Regions from separate parts of the Homo sapiens genome. Here regions 1 and 2 are each linked to region 3. The links are contacts of gene promoters, found by promoter capture Hi-C in human tissues and cell types (Jung and others, 2019). All regions are on one chromosome and are shown on one strand. The core of a region is centred on a gene start or on the middle of the fragment in contact, and the rest is flanking DNA. Distances in the headings are between cores, read along the strand shown. Region 1 holds the start of NDRG3 (NDRG family member 3). Region 2 holds the start of DSN1 (DSN1 component of MIS12 kinetochore complex). Region 3 overlaps DLGAP4 (DLG associated protein 4).

What was found. The method cuts DNA at HindIII sites, captures the fragments that hold promoters and counts their contacts. A contact is called where the count stands out against the background at its distance.
Region 1: a contact is called between the fragment with the promoter of NDRG3 here and a fragment that was not itself captured in region 3, in 3 of the 25 tissues and cell types used here (H1 embryonic stem cells, dorsolateral prefrontal cortex and lymphoblastoid cells).
Region 2: a contact is called between the fragment with the promoter of DSN1 here and a fragment that was not itself captured in region 3, in 3 of the 25 tissues and cell types used here (adrenal gland, heart left ventricle and lymphoblastoid cells).

What each region holds. Positions count from the first base shown.
Region 1 is chr20:36,744,695-36,747,699 of GRCh38, reverse strand. It overlaps NDRG3 (NDRG family member 3), which reads left to right and starts at 1,610. Exons shown (of 16, transcript NM_032013.4): 1 at 1,610-1,655. RefSeq lists enhancers at 1,357-1,456, 1,181-2,147 and silencers at 1,567-1,766, 1,797-1,986. The HindIII fragment of the contact is 7,851 bases long and covers 1-3,005 here.
Region 2 is chr20:36,772,208-36,775,218 of GRCh38, reverse strand. DSN1 (DSN1 component of MIS12 kinetochore complex) reads left to right here and starts at 1,456. Exons shown (of 11, transcript NM_001145315.2): 1 at 1,456-1,557. It overlaps LOC124904894 (a long non-coding RNA gene), which reads right to left and starts at 84. Exons shown (of 2, transcript XR_007067574.1): 1 at 1-84. RefSeq lists enhancers at 605-1,151, 1,111-1,190, 1,201-1,340, 1,471-1,530, 1,152-1,697. The HindIII fragment of the contact is 22,977 bases long and covers 1-2,164 here.
Region 3 is chr20:36,479,961-36,482,868 of GRCh38, reverse strand. All of the region lies in intron 7 of DLGAP4 (DLG associated protein 4), which reads right to left. Among named protein-coding and RNA genes, the nearest start is that of MYL9, 60 kb to the left of the region's middle. The HindIII fragment of the contact is 6,952 bases long and covers 1-2,908 here.

The DNA.
Region 1 (3,005 bases), core at 361-2,860, 260 kb before region 3:
AAATAATACTTACTGAGCTCTAAGCATTTTACATGCATATTATCATTCAGTCTTTGCCACAACCTTGTAACTTCTATTTCTGGGTGTGTGACATAGATGAGGAATTCGGGCATGGAGAGGTGTGGAGAGACTTAATTGTCTAACCAAGGACATAGGGATAAATAGTGGATGGTGAACTAGAACTAATTTGAATTCAGTAAATGTTAACGAACATAAACCATAAAATAAATGGCTGTGCTCAATTAATGTTAGTTTTCCTTCCAACTAAATTCAGTTCAAGAATTGTGCTTGATGAATAACAATATTATTGCTGCCCTCTGAGATGTTTGGTAATATTCATTTGTTCAGTTTGCCTTAATTAAAAGAATATGCTTTTAGTGGCCGGGCGTGGTGGCTCACACCTGTAATCCCAGCACTTTGGGACGCAGAAGCAGGCGGATTGCTTGAGGTCAGGAGTTTGAGACCAGCTTGGCCAACATGGTGAAACCCCATCTCTACTAAAAAAAAAAAAATACAAAAATTACCCAGGCATGGTGGCGCCCGCCTCTAGTCCCAGCTACTTGGGAGGCTGAGGGACTTGGGAACCTGAGCCGAGATGGCGACACTGGCTCGGGTTAAAAGGGCGTGGTGGCTCACACACCTGTAATCCCAGCACTTTGGGAGGCCGAGGCGGGCAGATGACGAGGTCAAGAGATCGAGACCATCCTGGCCAACACGGTGAAAACCCGTCTCTACTAATAATAGAAAAATTAGCCAGGCCCGGTGGCACACGCCTACAGTGCCAGCTACTCGGGAGGCTGAGGCAGGAGAATCGCTTGAACCCAGGAGGCAGAGGTTGCAGTGAGCCGAGATCGCGCTAGTGCACTCCAGCCTGGCGACAGAGTGAGACTCCGTCTCAAAAAACAAAACAAAACAAAACAAAAAAACTTTTAGTCAGTGGTACTTAATGGTAAAGAAATAATAGATAATAAATAGAGGAAGAGTGTGTCCTGTACATTTTGGTGTTAAATTGTTGGGTCATTAAGTTTAATATCTGCAATCATTCTGGGAAAAAAAATTCCATCTCTAATGTTGCATTCAAGAAAGTAGATGATTTGGCTGACGGTTGTAATAGGGGTGATACAATGGAGGACTGGTAATTCGGAGCCCTGAGTCTTGGACTCTAGTTCTTAAATTACTATGTTCATTCACCAAAAATTTACTAAGCTCTTTCCACGTGCCGAGCACTGTGCTAGGCGCCCTGTGACCTTGGGTATGGCTCTAGGTCACCTTAAAAGGAGGATGCCATACCCTGCAAGAGCTCTTAGGGGCTTCATAAGGATGCGACTCAGGGAACTGAGGGAAGCGCTCCAGACGCAGAGCTCAATGGCCCTGCCGCCCAGCGCCTCCAAAATCTGAGATTCTTCTCTGAGGAAACTCCGCAGCAAGAAAAACTACATCAAAGATGGCGCCGCCGGCCTCTCCTGGCTCAGCCACCATCTTCTCGGTAGTTCCCGAGGTGGACGGGCACAGCACTCATGCGCCGCCCTGGCGTCCTCGGCGCGCCTGCGCGGACCGCAGCACCTCCCCCGCCCCTCTCGCCGCCGCCGCCGCCGCCGCCGCCGCCGCCGCCGCCGCCGCTGCTGCTGCACTGACGGCGGGTGCCCGCGCCTCAGGTGAGTGAGCGCCTCCGCCCGGCCCGCGGGGGGCGCGCGGCGCCGCATTCGGGGGCGTCGCTCCTTTGCCCTGCTCCTTCCCCGCATCATCTCCGCGGCACGGCGAGGCCCTGGTGGCCCGTGCTGCTTGCCTCCCCCGTGCCCCCGGGGCCCTCTGCCCCGCCCCGCCCGCCCGCCGGACCCAGGTCAGCCCGGCTTTCCTCGGCCGCTCCCCGCGCCCAGCCCGCCGGCGACAGCGTGTGGGTAGCAAGAGAGCCTCCCTCCGGGCTCAACACCCTGGGTCACAGGGACGCCCCCCGCAGGCGCGAACCCTTCTCTCGCTCTGGCTCTGCAGGCGGCAGAGCTTGGTGGGCCTTGGGGTTGCTCATCCATCTACCTCGCCCGCTCCAAGAGCCCAGATGCTTGGAAGAGGGGCCGTGAGCAGCCCTTGCACCCGTCCGGCCCCAGAGCAGCAGAGGGCATCCTCTAACGGGACCCTACGACTACCCTACCGGGGAGAGGCTTCTTAGCCCCACTTAACAGCCGAGGAAACTGAGGCACGGAAAGGTGAAGTGCCATGCCCAAGGTCACGCAGCTGACAAGTGGCAGGGTCAGCTCTCAACTCAGGGTCTCGGGCTCTCAGGCCAGTGCGGTTGGAATTTGATCTCGTACCTTTGAAAAAATTTTGAAATCACTTGTCATCTCTGAAGTTGCTCTCGAACGTCGTAAAAGTAGGCTGCACAAAAAAGATTTTCTTGTTGTCGGAGTACAATTGAGGTGTTACTGTAATAATAATAGTGTTATTAATATAAGAGCTAACGTTCTTCCACCGCTCGCTGTGTGCCAGGGATCTTGCTAAGCATTTTATTAAGATAACCTCGCATAACCACCTCTGCACTTCCCAATCCAAATGCTTCCCCCTTCCTTGTCATGAAGCCCTTTTTTTCTTCCTGCAGAGCTGGCCTCCCTATCACAGGTAGACTAGGAGCCCCGTGGATTAGGAAGCAGGGAAGCTTTCCTTTGGTGGCTTACTGACAGAACAAGAGTGATCCTTGCCTGCTGGCATCCAGATCACCCCCGCCGCGCCCCCCCCCCCCCTTACCCTGGCCCTCAGGGGATATTATTAGCCTTCCTTTCCTGCCAAGAGAGCAGGACTGGGCTGACTGGGCTAGCTGGGCGGGCTGGACTTGGAGGTGACAGAGCAGATTTGGCTAGCACTCACCTCATTCCGGGGCTTTCTGTCCGAGGCTTTCTGCCTTTGCCCCAAGGTTGGGCTTGAACATTTCAGTATTTAAGATAAAGCAAGAAGAGAAAGAGAACATTGATAGAGTGGTGCTGAATTTAAGAAGCCTCCCATGATTTAAAGTTCCA
Region 2 (3,011 bases), core at 207-2,706, 290 kb before region 3:
CAGAAAACTTTTCCAAGGACCACAACTGCTATGGAAGGATGACCACGGTCAGCTCCAGCTGCCTCTCTCCAACCCCTCTTTTGGACTGTGGGCTGCTTATAATTCAATATTTGGAAGTTTTTCTGTGAAAGAAAGGACTGTGCACATCCAAGGGGACATTTTGGTGGCGTCGTGCTGGGTGCTGAGGAAGCAGCCCGCTCTCTGGAGCCTCCTAGACCAGCATGGGATAGTGGAGCAGGAACAGATTGGGCTCCTGGGAGCACAGAAAGGACAGTTGGTTTTCAGCCTAAGGCCAGAGAGAATGCTTGGAGAGAAATCAATCATTCCTTAGCTGAGGCTTAAAATTCGAGGATGTGGCCGGGCGCAGTGGCTCATGCCTGTAATCCCAGCTCTTTGGGAGGCCGAAGTGGGTGGATCACTTGAGGTCAGGAGTTCGCGACCAGCCTGGCCAACATTTTTAGTGGCCGTCTCTACTAAAAATACAAAAATTAGCCAGGCGTGGTGGTGGGCGCCTGTAATCCCAGCTACTCGGGAGGCTGAGGCAGGAGAATCGCTTGAACCCGAACCCGGGAGGCGGAGGTTGCCGGGAGCCGAGATCGCGCCACTGCACTCTAGCCTGGGCGACAGAGCGAGACTCCGTCTCAAAATACAAAAAAATTGGAGGATGTAGCTAGGAAAAGCAGGGAAAGCCTTCCCAGGCAGAGGGAACAGCGCCTGGGAATATAGCGCCTCAAAGGGCATCTGATGCCCTGTCCCCGTCCTACCCCTAAGGACCAGCCCGACCTGCCGCACCCCCCGACCCCGACTAAGGACACTGCGACCACTTGGGGGCGCTGCGACCTCCTCCCGGGTGAAATGAAACCCGAGGGCAGGCCCCCACCCACCAAGCAAGTAAAGCAAGCCGTTTGAGGGAGTGGCCTGGAAATGAGAGAGAAAAAGTCCTAGAGCAGGAGTGGGATAGACTGTGAGGCAAACTGAGCTCAGAGCTCCAGTCCACCCTGGGGAGAGTCACGGTCCACATTTTGGGAGTTAAGGAGATAAAGGGAGTGGGAACCAGAGCCTAGCGACGGGGACAGGGCATCAGATGCCCTTTGAGGCGCTGTATTCCTCCGGCAAGAATCTCTCCGGGCCTCTGTTTCCCCCATCTTAGATGGGCTCTGGGGCCGTCGGGCGCAAAAGGACACGATAGTGTGGCGGGTCCCGGAAAGGGACTCCCGGGCGGGGTGTTGCGGGGAGGTGGTGACGTGGCCAGACAGGACCTAAAGGACTTGGACTAGAGGAGCGGAGCTGGCAGGAGCGTTGGACGGCGGTGTACGCATGCGCGTCGGGCGGCGGTGTACGCATGTGCATCGCCGGAGGCAGGCGTTCTGCGCGCGCGTGCCCGAGAAACTGACGGCCGCGCATGCGCCCTTGGTTGGCGGGAGTTTCGGAGGCGGTGACCGTGACGTAGAAGGTGGAGACCGCTTCACCCTGATCAGGGAGTATCGGCTGCGGGTGCGCAAGGCGTCCAGGAGTGACCTGGGGCTGTGGAGAGCGACCCGTGGCCTTGTGTTTCAGGTACGGAGGTTCCGGACTGGACGGGCGTCAGGAAGTCACAGACTTGTCCTCTGATGTGGCCCCGCCCGCCGCCGCACTAATCTCTTCGGCGTCGTACCCGTCGGCCCAGCTCGACCCGCCGCAGCCCCGGCCCCGACCGTGGACACTGGGGGTCCCCGAGGGCGCTGCGACCTCCTCCCGGGTGAAATGAAACCCGAGGGCAGTCCCCCTTACCGACCCCATTAGAGACGTATCTGCCGTGCCAGGGGTCTAGGCTCCAGAAACAGGGGTGAGGACTGGGTAGAGGGCTGGGGTTCGAATTGCCCCTGTGCCCCCAGGCTGGCTGTGTCACAAGCTTGGGCCAGGCTTTTTGCCCCTCTGAACCTCAGTTCCCCTGTCTGCAAAGTGGAGTTAATGGTGCTTACGGAGTTGTGGAAGGGATTAAGTGGAATAACGATGCAAGTAAAGCGCTTACATAGCACAGGTCCTAGCACAGAATAAGCGTTTAACAGTTGACAGTTGTTGCTTTTCTAAGCCTGGATCTGTGTGATACAGTCGTTATTATCCAAGCCTGGATTTGTGTGATATTGTCATAAGGACCGTGGGGGATTCAGATCCTTGACCGAGCCCTCCTTGTTATCTTTTCCTTTTTGTCCCTCTGCATATATTCATATCTTTTTACTTAGCACCCCCCACAGACAGATTTCTGCTGGGAGGGAGGGGACGATGAAGAGATGCCTAGGTGACATCCCTGCCTTCCAGGCAGTTGTTCCTGACAGTCACTAGGAATACAAATACAGCCTGGCTGGGGAGACAGACATGTAAACAGATTTTATAGCCAATGCTACGAAGGCCAAGGGGCATAACCACCAACTCTGCCAAAGATAAGTGATGTGAAAGCTTCATATTTGAGCCAGGTTGGGAAGGATGAATAAGTTTAACAGGTAGAAGGACAGATATGTGCAAAGATTCAGAAGTAGTACAGGGAATAGGACTGGGAGGAGAGAGCAGGAATGGGTAAATTGGGACTAGTTTACCTGAGGTGTTGACTACACTTTGGAAAAGTCCCGGCAACTGTCTGAAGAATAGACTGGGCCGGGTGTGGTGGCTCAGGCCTGTAATCCCAGCACTTTGGGAGGCTGAGGCCGGGCGGATCACCTGAGGTCAAGAGTTCGAGACCAGCCTGGCCAATATGGGGAAACCCCATCGCTACTAAAAATACAAAAATTAGCCAGGTGTGGTGGCAGGCACCTGTAATCCCAGCTACTCAGGAAGCTGAGGCAGGAGAATTGCTTGAACCTGGGAGGTGAAAGTTGCAGTGAGCCGAGACTGCGCCACTGCACTCCAGCCTTGGCGACAGAGTGAGATTCCACCTCAAAAAAAAACAAAAACAAAGAATAGACTGGAGACGGGCCGTTGGAGGTAGAAAAACTAGTGGAGAGACTATTAAGATAGTGGGAGGGACCAGAAATTAT
Region 3 (2,908 bases), core at 105-2,604:
GAAACCCTGTCTCTACTAAAAATACAAAAATTAGCCGGGCATGGTATCTCATGCCAGTAATCCCAGCTACTCAGGAGGCTGAGGTGTGGGGATCACTTGAACCCGGGAGACAGAGGTTGTAGTGAACCAAGATCATGCCACTGCACTCCAGCCTGGACAACAGAGTTAGACCCTGTCTCAAAAAAACAAAAACAAAAACAAAAAAACAACCCACGAGAAGCAGGTGCTAGTAAGCAGGAGAAACCGCCCAGTTACAAAGCTGCCTCGGCTCCAGCCCAGTGCAAAAACTTGACATGTGCAGCCCGCTTGGTCTGGTGAAGGACTGAGGGTAGAGAATGCAAAATGTGGCTTTTCAAATACTGGCTGTATCATACGAGCTTTGCTGCTACCTTTCCAAAGCCCTAAGATCCCAGAGCCCAGCCTGGGAAGTATTACTTGGAAAGAGCCTCAAAAAAACTACCCTCACTTCTGGAGGGCTGATGTCAATGGAGGGCTGACTTCAAACCCTGGCGATAGGTCACAAAAGCCCGGCTTTCACCAACTGTCATAGGCTGTGTGTCCAGTGTGCAAAGCCAGACGCTGCCAGGCCCTGTGCACCTCGATTGCTGGCCTCTTTCACCATTCTGAATGACCAAGCGAATCCCAGAATAGAAAGGCAGTGTTAACAAGCTCATTCACTGGGCCTGGAGTGGCAGGTGGCATATCAGGTGACAGGAGTAGGAGCCAAGATCCCTCGGCAGCCTAGAGTTGGGATGAGACGAATAGTGCAGGACTGAATGGGGAAAACCGTGAGTTCACTTCAGGTCAGCAGAGGTAATGCTGCCTGTCTCTGTGCCAGGCACACCCGGGGGACAGAGACACAGAAAAACAGAGGGATTTTTTTTCCCTCAGAGCTTATATTAAGACCCTGAGTTTGGGAACCCAAGTAAGACAATTACACAAGAAAAGCGGCATATGTGGAAAAATGGCTTAGTGACGTCAGCTGACCACAGACACTGAGGATGCACTGTTACAGGAAAGTCACAGGACCAGAGAGGGCGCAGTCCCCACTGAACTCTGGATAATACTGAGGGTATCATAGGTAATTCCAGGCAAGGGATATCGTCAAACTGGAACCTGAAGACAGAAGGTGATCCACACAGGGAGAAGTCTCAACTCCACCCCATTCCAGCAAATGCTTATTTACAGAGGGAAAGCCATGCACAGTGCCAGCCACTAGGGACCCAGAATGAGTAGTCCTTGTCCTCAAGAAACCCATAGAAATGTGGAGATGACAATGAAAAGCCTCCTCCACTGACTGGGCACTGTGGCAGCCATATGGAGTTGCATGAGAAAGCCCAGGACTGATTCAACAAGTGATTAGTGTGTCTGGGACGGACTTGTCACAAACGGGGCGTGTGACACATATGCACCAAAAGTTGTGCTTAGCGTAAAGTGAGGGATGGCTTGGAGAGGCTAGGATGGTCACCCTGGAGAAGAGAGACAATTTAAAAGGGCATGGCTACTGTCCTCAAATACCTAAAAGACTGTCAAATACACATGTAGCCCCAGAGGGTCACACTACAATCAGAGGGGAAAAGGAAGGTGGGGATTGTTAATGGAAGTAAATTTTGACTAATTATAAAGAGGAGCTTTCTAAGAAGCAGAGCTGGCCAAAGATGGAAGAAGGACCTAGAAAATGGCCAGCCAGGCTAGACACAGGCAGGATGGATGCCAGGGAGGAAACTGAAGTCCCCATGGGTGTGACTTTTAAGATTCCTACCGGGCCTGAGACGCTCTTTGCCCTTCTACTTTACATCCAGTTCTGGACGTGATACCACACATCATCTTTGTGTGCATGACATTCATAGTTCAACATTTTTTTTTTGAGACAGTCTCACTGTCATCCAGGCTGGAGTGCAGTGGTATGATCACAGCTCACTGCAGCCTTGATAGCCCGGGCTCAAGCAATCCTCTCACCTCAGCCTCCCAAGTAACTGGAACCACAGGGGTGCACCACCATGCCTGGCTAATTTTTTTAGTTTTTGTAGAGATGAGGTCTCACTATGTTGCCCATGCTGTACTAGAACTCCTGGGCTTAAGCAATTTTTCCACCTAGGCCTCCTGAAGTGCTGGGATTACAGGCGTTGAGTTACCGTGCCCAGCCAACTTTTTGTTTAGAGACAGGGTTTCACTCTGTCACCTAGGCTGGAGTACAGGGTGTGATCATAGTTCACTGTAGCTTCAACTTCCTGGGCTCAAGTGATCCTCCCACGTCAGCCTCCCGAGTAGCTAGGACTACAGACATGTACCACTGCTCCTGACTAATTTTTTTAATTTTAATTTTTTGTAGAGACAGGGTCTCACTATGTTGCCCAGACTGATCTCAAACTCCTGGGCTCAAGCCATCATCTCACCCTGGTCTTCCAAGTGCTGGGATTACAGGCGTGAGCCACTGGTCTTTTTTACCCCCCTACCTCCGGAGAATTGTTATCAACAAACAGCGAAATACAAAATGAGAATGTTCACACAGCCTAGCCACACGGGAAATCTTGTGAGGACTAACACCAGGGCTTCAGACAGCAAAGTCTGGAAGTAAAACACCTTCGTCTGGGAAGTCTAGCTGCATAAGAGCTCCCATCTGAGATGATAAATCCATCCTCAGAATAGGAGATCAGCTGATACTTGCTACCCTGCCCCCTTCAAAATACCTGCTATGACAGAAACTGCCAGTAGGTTAGGAATCCCTGGAATCAGCCTTCATTCAGTGTATGACTTAAGCTCCTGGGTCTGAATTTCTCCCATCTATAAAATGAGAATAATGCGGCTTGCCCTGTCTATTGCCCTAGGACTGCTGTGAGTTTCCCAAGACAGGTGGGAAAGGGCTTGGCAGGTGAGGAACTGTCATTACAATTGCCTGAGGAGCCTA